3 separate regions of the Homo sapiens genome follow, and regions 2 and 3 are each linked to region 1. Evidence: promoter capture Hi-C in 16 types of primary human blood cells and fetal thymus (Javierre and others, 2016). All regions are on one chromosome and are shown on one strand. Each heading gives the region's core, a stretch centred on a gene start or on the middle of the fragment in contact. The rest is flanking DNA. Distances are from core to core; before and after follow the strand shown. Region 1 holds the start of WDFY1 (WD repeat and FYVE domain containing 1). Region 2 overlaps AGFG1 (ArfGAP with FG repeats 1). Region 3 overlaps MFF (mitochondrial fission factor).

The links. Contacts are between HindIII fragments. The CHiCAGO score rates a contact against its expected background, and 5 or more counts as called.
Region 2: a fragment that was not itself captured here is called in contact with the fragment with the promoter of WDFY1 in region 1 in 1 of 17 cell types (naive CD8 T cells); the score reaches 6.8 in naive CD8 T cells.
Region 3: a contact is called between a fragment that was not itself captured here and the fragment with the promoter of WDFY1 in region 1, in 2 of 17 cell types (total CD4 T cells and non-activated CD4 T cells). The highest score is 6.2, in total CD4 T cells.

What each region holds. Positions count from the first base shown.
Region 1 is chr2:223,943,778-223,947,219 of GRCh38, reverse strand. WDFY1 (WD repeat and FYVE domain containing 1) reads left to right here and starts at 1,885. Exons shown (of 12, transcript NM_020830.5): 1 at 1,885-2,072. The coding sequence starts at 1,936. LOC124907989 (a long non-coding RNA gene) reads right to left here. Exons shown (of 2, transcript XR_007088100.1): 1 at 2,813-3,442. RefSeq lists a silencer at 2,134-2,313 and enhancers at 2,884-2,943, 2,954-3,073. The HindIII fragment of the contact is 5,306 bases long and covers 1-3,442 here.
Region 2 is chr2:227,481,923-227,485,364 of GRCh38, reverse strand. All of the region lies in intron 1 of AGFG1 (ArfGAP with FG repeats 1), which reads right to left. Among named protein-coding and RNA genes, the nearest start is that of AGFG1, 11 kb to the right of the region's middle. The HindIII fragment of the contact is 1,974 bases long and covers 713-2,686 here.
Region 3 is chr2:227,327,567-227,331,008 of GRCh38, reverse strand. It overlaps MFF (mitochondrial fission factor), which reads right to left. Exons shown (of 9, transcript NM_001277062.2): 2 at 2,220-2,331; 3 at 163-383. The coding sequence starts at 343. Among named protein-coding and RNA genes, the nearest start is that of MFF, 4.0 kb to the right of the region's middle. The HindIII fragment of the contact is 1,318 bases long and covers 1,167-2,484 here.

The DNA of each region.
Region 1 (3,442 bases), core at 636-3,135:
ATCTCATCAGCAACAGCATATAGTAAGTGTGCGATATATGTCTGTTGAATATAGGAATAAATAAATTCATGAATGTTTGTTAATAACTTCATCATGAGAAAGTATTAGTACAATGGTGGCTCCTGCCCGTAATCCCAGCATTTTGGGAGGCTGAGGTGGGCAGATGATTTGAGGGCAGAAGTTTGAGACCAGCCTGGTCAACATGGTGAAACCCTGTCTCTAGTAAAAATACAAAATTAGCCAGGCATGGTGGTAGGTGCTTGTAATCCCAGCTACTCGGGAAGCTGAGACAGGTGAATCCCTTTAACCTGGGAGGCGGAGGTTGCCGTAAACCGAGATCGCACCACTGCACTCCAGCCTGGGTGACGGAGTGAGTTCGTCTCAAAAAACTAAAACAAAACAAAACAAAAACAAAAAGAAAGTTCTAGTAAATCACTGTACATAGAAGTACCATCTGATTCACATCCATAATTTAAAGTTTTTATTAGCTACCTTAAAAAAATAAGCAGGTCATATTAATTTTAATAGTATCTAACTCAATATATCCAAAATAGTATCATTTCAACATGTAATCATTGTAACAATTATTGATGAACTATATTACATCTTTTTTGTTTTGTGCTAAGTCTATAAAATCTTGTAGTATTTTGCACTTGTACTACATCTCAGTTTGGACAAGCCACATTTCAAGTGCTCTATAGTCATGTGGATAGTACGGTTCTAATGCAATTCTGCAATTCAGGTGTCAGAATAATATAGTGGGGCAGAAGTTTGGAGTCATTGACTTCCTGAGTCCAAATTTTGGCTCTTGAACTTACTGGTTGTCAATGACCTCTAGCCAAAAACCACCAGGAACAAATGGGGTTGATTGCTTGTTGGAGGGAGAAGACACACCATTGGGAATGGTGAGGTGTCTGGGTAAAGGGATGTTCGGACAGTTTTATTATAGGATTTGTGTTTGTGTTAGGTGACCTGGGAGAGCTTAAGGAAGAGAGGCTCTCCTGTGGACTGGATGTTGTCAGGAAATGCGTATAATTCTAAGGTTGCATATCTTAATAAATCTTATCTAAATGGAGGAAGACTAGATAGCGGTTAACATTATAATTAATAAAGAAATAAGAGTCACTCATATTAGCCAGGATAGGGGGATGTTTGGTAATTTCTGTGGCTTGTACATCGCTCATATTTTGGCCGTGTTTAGATGTGATTATGGAGTGGCCTCGTCTGATGTTTATGTTCCACAGGAAGCAAACACTTCCTAGCAACACCAAAGCTCAGCTGATAGTACCAGGCAGCTCCTGGAGATCAAGGGCTGCTTTTCTCCCTCTCATAGCTGTGCAACCTTAAGGTAGTGATCAAACTTCTCTGGTTGTTTTCTCATCTCTAAAATGGGAATACAAGAGCATCTATTTCATCTCTTAAAATTATCAGTATTAAATGAGATGCAAAGACACTGAGTTAATGCCTGGTATATGGTCACCACTCAGTGCTATCTATTGTAGTTCAAAGATTCTAAGATGCACTATATTTTTTCACATTTTAACATTTCTGAAAGTGTGTGCCTTTCAAACAATGGCTTCTTCAAATGGATGAAATGTAGTATTGTAATTTCTGAAATCTCTGGTTTGGGGGACAATTCCTTGTCCCCTCCAGGTGCTCAATTTATTCCTGGGTGAATGGCTTTACTTTTAAACCTTCCTTACTTTCCCCATTTCTCCGCAGGCGCCCCGTGGCATCCTCTCCCAGCCACAGACTTTCAGCTTGCGCGGCATCCCCAGGCAATACGGGCGGTGCGGCGGCAGCACTCGGGGGCTTACGGCGGCGCGGCGCCCAAGAGGCCCCAGCAGCCGAAGGGAAACCGGCGCGTCCCCCGCCCGCCCAGGCGTCAGCTGATGGGCTGCCTGCCGAGGAGGCCGCAGCAGTCGCCGCGCGAACATGGCGGCCGAAATCCACTCCAGGCCGCAGAGCAGCCGCCCGGTGCTGCTGAGCAAGATCGAGGGGCACCAGGACGCCGTCACGGCCGCGCTGCTCATCCCCAAGGAGGACGGCGTGATCACGGCCAGCGAGGACAGGTAGGGCCCGGGCGCAGCCGGGGCGGCCCGAACTCCGCGACGACGGGGTGTGGGGGCGGTGGGGTCCGCGGCCCCGGTCCTTCCTGCGTGAGGGGGCTCCCCCGGCAGCACGGCCCCACCCCCACTCTGCGCCCCTTAGCTCCGCCGGGTTCCCGGTTCCCTCCCGCCGGTCCTCCAGCCTCGACTTGCACCTTTCCAGCCTGGGACCCCGGTCTCGCCGCGCCCCTCCAGCCCGGATCCCCTGTCCCACCGCGCCCCTCCAGCCCGGGAACTCCGTCTCACCGCGCCGCCCAAGCCCGGGACCCTTGTTCCAACGTGTCTTTCCAGCCCAGGACCCCTGTTCCAGTGCGCCCTACCGCGCCCCTCCCAGCCCACCTCGCCCCTCCTGCTCAGGACCCCTGTTCCAATGCTCCCCAACGCGCCCCTCCAGTCCGGGACCCTTGTCCCACTGCGCCCGTCCATCCCGGGAGCTCCGTCCCACCGCGCCCCTCTAGCCCGGATCTTCTGTCCCACTGCGCCCCTCCAGCCCGGGAACTCTGTCCCACCGCGCCACTCAAGCCCGGGACCCCGGTTCCAGTGCGCCCCAACGCACCTCTCCAGCCCAGGACCTCTGTCTCACCGCGCCCCTCCAGCGCGGGAACTCTGTCTCACCGCGCTGCTCAAGCCGGGGACCCCTGTTCCAGTGCGCACCAACGCGCCCCTCCCAGCCCACCGCGCTCCTCCAACCAGGGAACCCCGACCTGCGGTGTCGCACTAGCCTGGGACCTTCGTCCCGGTCTCTCTCCCTGGCGGGGTTTAGCCTGGTACTCGGAAGGTGTTTCTTGGCCCTCCCGGGTCAGTTCCAAATCGTCTCCTCTGGAAGCGTGGAGGACCGGCGGCTGGTCACTGCGGACCCTGGTGCCCGGGGCTTGCTTCTTTGCGAGGAACTCCAGCCGCCTTCGCTCTCTTCCTCCCCCTGTACTCAGGGATTTCACGCCACGCCAGGCCTCTAGATCAGTTATTTTTGCCACGGCTGCTAGAATCACCTGAACTCTTATTTACTAAATAGGTTTTTGTGAAAGTGACTCATTTTTAAAAATATTTGGATGCATTTATTTTAAAAGGAAATCTTATTTATTAGGAAAACTAACATTACTCACCAGACAGAGTAAACTAATAACTAAAACATGTTAATTGGCATGCACACAGAGTCCTCTCTTGCACTGTGACATCTTGCATTGGACGCCCACCATGCTTTTGGGAAACACTGATTGGGTCCAGTTTTCTCATTTCTCCTAAGAGGAAGCCGAGGCTGGTGGAGGTGTAGCTTGCTGCTAAGTTACAGAGATACTGGTGAAGCCGGAAATGCAATCCAGAACTCCCACCAGCTC
Region 2 (3,442 bases), core at 450-2,949, 3.5 Mb before region 1:
CTCAGGAGGCTTAGGCAGGAGAATCACTTGAACCTGGGAGTTGGAGGTTGCAGTGAGCTAAGATCACGCCATTGCACTCTAGCCTGAGCGAGACTCTGTCTCAAAAAAAAAAAAAAAAAAAGAAACGATTCGGTGAAACTTCAAAGACAGAGAAGATCTTAAAAGCAACTGGAATGAAAATATAGGGAACAAAATTTGGCTCGTAGTAGACTTCTCAATGGAAGGGAGAAGACCATGGAATATTATCTTCAAGTGGTAAGAAAAAATAACTTGTGAATCCAGCAAAGCTATGTTTGAAGTATAAGATCAAAATAACAGTATCTTCAGATAAAAAACAAAACAAAAAAACCCACTAGGCTAGGTACGGTGGCTTATGTGTGTAATCCCAGCACTTTAGGAGGCCAAGGTGGGCAGATCACCTGAGCTCAGGAGTTCGAGACCAGCCTGGCTAACATGGTGAAACCCCATCTCTACTAACAACAAAAATACAAAAATTAGCCGGGCATGTTGGCGCACACTTGTAATCCCAGCTACTGGGGAGGCTGAGGCAGGAAGATCACTTGAACCCAGGAGGCAGAGGTTACAGTGAGCCAAGATCGTACCACTGCACTCCAGCCTGGGTAACAGAGTGAGACTCCATCTCAAAAAAAAAAAAAAAAAAAAAAAAAAAAAAAAACAAAAAAAAAACTAAGAGATCTTCATTAAAGAAGCTTATACTGTATATACTTTAAGAAGAAAAATGACCCAAGAAAGTCTTGAGATGCTAAGGGGTAAGCAAACTGTAAACTGGCAAATCTAAACAAATATCATCTTATTACAGTAACATCCAACTAACAGAAGGAAAAAAGGGACAAATAATATGTTTACCAACAATAACACTTAAATGAGCCAGGCGCGGTGGCTCACACCTGTAATCTTAATCCCAGCAGGCGGGTGGATCACTTGTGATCAGGAGTTCGAGAGCAGCCTGGCCAACATGGTTAAAACTCCATCTCTACTAAAAATAGAAAAATTAGCCAGGTGTGGTGGCAGTCCTCAATCCCAGCTACTCAGGAGTCTGAGGCAGCAGAATCACTTGAACCTGGGAGGCAGAGGTTGCAGTGAGCCGAGATCACGCCACTGCACTCCAGCCTGGGCCACAGAGTAAAACTCCGTCTCAAAAAAAAAGAAACACCACTTAAATGAAACTACTTTGTATTTTTAAAGACCTTGTATTAACAGAAGATTAAAATACTGATTAACTCTGGAATGTTAATATCAATAGTACAATTTCAATTGTGACCATAAAAGAAAATGGAGGGTGGGGGTAGGGGGGAGGGATAGCATTAGGAGATATACCTAATGTTAATGGGTGCAGCACACCAACATGGCATGTGTATATATATGTAACAAACCTGCACGTTGTGCACATGTACCCCAAAACTTAAAGTATAATAAAAAAAAGAAAACGGAATTCCACAAGTAAAAGGGAAAAATCAAAACAAAACCAAAAAAACTTGGCCAATTTTTTAATTAAACATGCATGTGCCATACAACCTAGCCCTAGATATTTACCCAAGTGAAATGAAAACTTACGTTCACCCAAAAACTTGAGCATAAACATTTACAGCATTTCCATTCATATATATCAAAAACTAGAAACTCCTCAAACAGAAAATGGAAAAACAAACAAGCAATGGAATACTACTTAGCAACAAGGAGGAACAAACTATTAAGATAAACAACAACTAACTTGGATTAATCTTAAAGATAATATGTTGAGTGAAAAAAGGCAATCTAGAAAAGTTATGAGTCCATTTACACAACATTCTTGGAAAGACAAAACCTGCAGTGTTGGAGAACAGATCAGTAATTGCCAGGAGTACAGTAAAAACAAGGGCTAAAAGTTTTTTGGGGTGATGGAAAACTTGCATGTTCTAATTTGAGTGGTGGCTATATGAATCTATACATATGTTAAGATTCACAGAACTGCATACCAAAAAATTATAACGTATGTCAAGAAATAAAAAAACTGTAGTCCTGATTTCGTGTTAGTATCTATAGTAACCACAATTTTTAGAGTAATTAAATTTATCATTAGCAGACTATCTTCACCTACCAAATTTGATCATTTAAGTGAATAAAATCCTGCAGTGAATCAAAACAAGTATTTTTAAGATGTGAACCTGAGGTCACTTCCCTTTTTTGCTAAAGCCCTTCTAGCTACAGGGTGAATTCAGGGTTTATAAAACACTTTTCTGTCATATTAGTCATAACTATTGGATGAAAGTGTTGGGTAAGTAAACCACATTACTTTCATGGGGCCAATACTGAAGTACCACCCATTCCAGATCCTCAAATACACATTTTAAGTCTTCAGTTTTGTGCAAAAAAAAAAAAAAAAAAGACTCAATAACTGCAGTTTTGATATCTTGAAAACATGTTTGCAAGTTAACTGGTTTCAAGAAGTTCAAAGTAGCCTACTGGTGCAGCCCAATACATTTTTGTAGTATAATTAAGACATCTGCAGATCCCCAGGAGATTTAGTTTTAATGACCACCACCCAGGTATGACTGTAACCAGATGGTGTGGCTCATTCCATATGTCCATCAGTGTGCTGCTCTTAACTAGGCCTCAAACAATCTTGCAAATAACCATTTGTTCAATTCAAATAACAATCTGTGCTGGATGAGTAAGTAGGAAAGCTTATTTAGTTAGTTTTATTAATTGTTTTTCTCCTGCTGTGGGAGAAGCTGGTAAAAATATTTTTAATAACCTGTGGAAGTTTATGTAGTTGCCAATAATACTGGCAGAAAGTAATAAAGTTGACATTTAGATCTAGCCCATCCTAGTTATTTACTAAAAATATTACATATGTTTCATAGCATAAAATTATACATTTAAAATCTAGAACAGATGGAAGGAAGGTGCCTTTAGTAGGTTATCAAATCTACAAACTATTGATGCCAAGACACCGTATATGTTGGCTAGTCCAAAATATTCGTCTATCCAGAGTCCAACATTAAAAAACTGAATATATTTAGCTTTCTATATATAATAATAAGCATGATATAAATCCCTATTGTTATTCTGAGTTTCTGGGAAAGCCACAAATACTACACCATAAGGTCCTTGTAACACTTAGAGCAAGCATCTAAAAAATAATATTCAAGTTATGACTTAAACCTAATTAAGGCATTCTAGTTAAAAGTAGTGGACAAGGCTGGGTGCGGTGGCTCACGCCTGTAATCTCAGCACTTTGGGAGGCCGAAGCGGGCAGATCACGAGGTCAGGAGATCGAGACCATCCTGGCTGACATGGTGAAACCCCGTCTTTACTAAAAATACAAAAAATTAGCGGGGCAAGGTGGCGGGCGCCTGTAGTCCCAGCTACGTGGGAGGCTGAGGCAGGAAAATGGCGTGAACCCGGGAGGCAGAGCTTGCAGTGAGCAGAGATCGCGCCC
Region 3 (3,442 bases), core at 576-3,075, 3.4 Mb before region 1:
CTGTTTGCAATTCAGACTATAATAATGAATAGAAATTTCAAAAGTATAAAGTTGCATTTTCCAACTCCTTTTCTAAATAACATTTAGAAAAACTCAAAAGTTTTCATAGAAACATATAAAACAAAGATTTAACAGGCAACCTTCTAAGTAAAGGTGAAATACCTGCTACAACAATCCTCTCCGGAACTTGCATTATCACACTAGCATTTGGAACTCCTTCTTGGAATCCTTGTTCCAGGTCAGCGTTTGGCGGTGCTACTTTTAACTTTTCTGGGACCCTCATTCGCTGACTAATGCCTTCAGTATATTCCATTTCGTACTGAATTCGACTAATTTCTGCCATCTCAGCAGCAGTGGGAGAAGGAAATGCTGCCCTGCTCACCCTGTGGGAGAAAAATTTAAAGACAGGGCTGACTGTTAAAATGTCAGTCTCCTCTACGCAGTGAAGTTAGAAGACAATACCTTATAGAAAGAGCGAAAGGAAACTTCTCATTTGCAAGTACTGAACACATACAAAGCAAAAATAAAAGATGAAAGAAAATGTCTTCCTCAACAAAATGCCTTCTTAATTATCAGCTGAAATTGTACCTTGAGGATATTGCTTAGGAGCAAATTTTTTAAATTATTATAGAATTACAACACAAATGTGTACACACACATACACACATACTCTCTGCGTAAACATGCATGCTGCTTGTAACTAAAAAAATGCCTGCAATAAAATTTAAACTTAAAATTTCCTCATCAATTTGAGGGAAAGCTGCTTGGACTTTAAAAATATAAAATTAAAAATTACTGTCATGCATGAAAAAATAAAACCTTTAAATGACAAATGCATCTGTTATTCAAAACCTTTAAATGACAGATGCATAACATTAACTCTGAATTTACTAAAAAAGAAGATGCAACTCCCTGAAAATCACATCATACAAACTAAAACTTCTCCTAATGACTGAGATGCAATGAATACCAAATTTAGAATTTGTAATAATAAATCCTCATGTTTGTATTCATTTTTGGAGGGACTGAAAGTTTTACACTATTAATCTGTATTTAATATCATATTTACATGTGTTTTTTTTTTTAATGCAGTAGAAAGAATGTTGCCGCCAATACAAAAGCTGATAAAAATGTAAAAGAGCATGGTTAGCCTACGGCAGTAAGCTTTAAAGCCATTGTCTCTCAAACCTATAATACCAGCTCAACTGAATAAAATTTCACTGACCTTCCTAGTGATGTGTCACTGCTTGTTCCTTTACTCATTTAAATACAGTAAATACAGGTCTATAATAGCTATTAAAATACTGCTACCCTGCAGTTCAGTTTACTTTACACAACAATTCCCCTACACATTTGAACTTTTTTTGGAGGTGTACATAACAACACGGACACTGCTTTTCCAGCTGTAAAAAAGAAAGAATAAAAATCAGTATTTCAACAATTCATTTCATAAGAAAACTATGAATAAAAGTAAATATCTACGTAAAATGACTTTTGGATTTGAACATGGCTTAGGGCTTGATTTGAGAAACCAATTGTTAAATCTATCCTAAGAAGAGTTTTTCTATACCTCAAAAATCATAAAGACAGTTGTAAGCACAGTCACTGTCTTATGATTTTGCAAACAGGATACAGAGAAGCTGTATCAAATGTATATACAAATGTGAAGTCAGATTCGAAGAAAACAATACTGCCATAAAACTCCTCTAATCATTATACTCCAAAGGGGAAAAATCCTTTTTTAAGACTAAGCCCAAATGAATAAATCATGAAGGGAATACAAAGGGTAAAAAGTAAATGTAACTGAGGCAGCCTACATATTTGACGTCTAATGGTTTCTTTAAATAAAAATAAACTTCAAAATTTAGGGTAAACTTCAAATGGAAATTACACTAAATTTTCAGCAAAGACACTATATATAAATTAAAGACATAAAAAGTTAAAGACAGTATACATGACTTTACCATGGCTAAGGTATTTCCTAAACTCCATGCTGGAGATATAGCCCCACCCTAAGCCCCCGCCTCACTGAGATGCCTAGGAGAGCTCTTAGAGGTTGCTCAGGACGCTCAGCCCCAGCAACTGGTTTGACTATGACTGCTAACTCACATCTTTTATTCTTTATCAAAAAATCTCTGGGGACATAGATCTTTAAGGATTTGGCATGCAGACGATTTAAAGACTAAGAAAGTAAGCCAAAAGGGACCATTTTTACTCACAAATGTGTAACAACTACTGCTTGCTATTTGGCACTATCTGCTTCTGTGCTTCATATTAAATCCTTTAACTTGCTTCAATGTGCATGTGCTGGATTGAGAGCCACTTTTGTCCCTGGGGAAGAAAAACAGGGGCTAATTGAGAAACTAGATGAAACCACTATTAGGGATTCATTACTGGAAATTCTCCAAATAGTAACAGTCACAAAGATGCACAACCTGACATCAAGAGACCAGTAAGAAAATAAAGAAAGAAAAAAATTAAGCTTACCACCAATCTTAGTTCCACAGATGGGGTCCTACAACTATTCATTAGTTAAGGCAATATAAAAGACTAGCTCTGTCATTGTTTCTGATTTGTATTTAGAAAAATGTGGCAGATGAAAAATACGTAAGTTTAAATGAATCTAATACTTACGTATATATATGCATATAGGTACACATATATGTTAAAGAAGAACAAATGAATTGGTTTTTTTTTTTTTTTTTTTTTTTTTGTCACCCGGGCTAGATTGCAATGGAGCTTCCTGAATAGCTGGGACTACAGGCATATGCCACCACACCCAGCTAATTTTTGTATTTTTTGTTGAGACAGGGTCTTATTATGTTGTTCAGGCTGATCTCAAACTCCTAGGCTCAAGAAATCCTCTGGCCTTCGTCTCCTAAAGTGCTGGGACTACAGGTGTGAGCCACCGTGCCCGGCCTGTTTAAATTTTCATTCACTTACGATGTTAAAATTTTGAACTAGTAATGCATGTACTCGGTACAAAGTACGCAAGCTATACAGAGAAAAGGAAGTGTCCCACTTTCAATCCTATCCTTAACCACCCAGGTTCCCACAGGCAACCTTTATAATCAATTTTTGTGCATCATTCCAGATGAGATGCTCTTCTAATACTTGCGTGTATCTCAAGCATAGCAAAAGCTCATATTCAGAACTAACACTGAAAAAAGCTACCTCAAAAAGATTATAGCCTTTGGCCATTATAAATTGAAGTTTTATAATAATAAACGAGAACCAAGTGGCTAGAACCTCAGTATCTCCTTGAAATGTGCTTTCTCTGCATTCCATTCATTGCATTTCAGTCTTACGAACTTTCTAGTAGTACATCTCATAGGTCTCACTACTATATTCCATTCTATAGCAACATCTTTTCTTACGAGAATATCTGAGTTTGTAAAAAACTAGTGACTTAGAAAATAAAGGTGGATGCTGAAATGCCAAC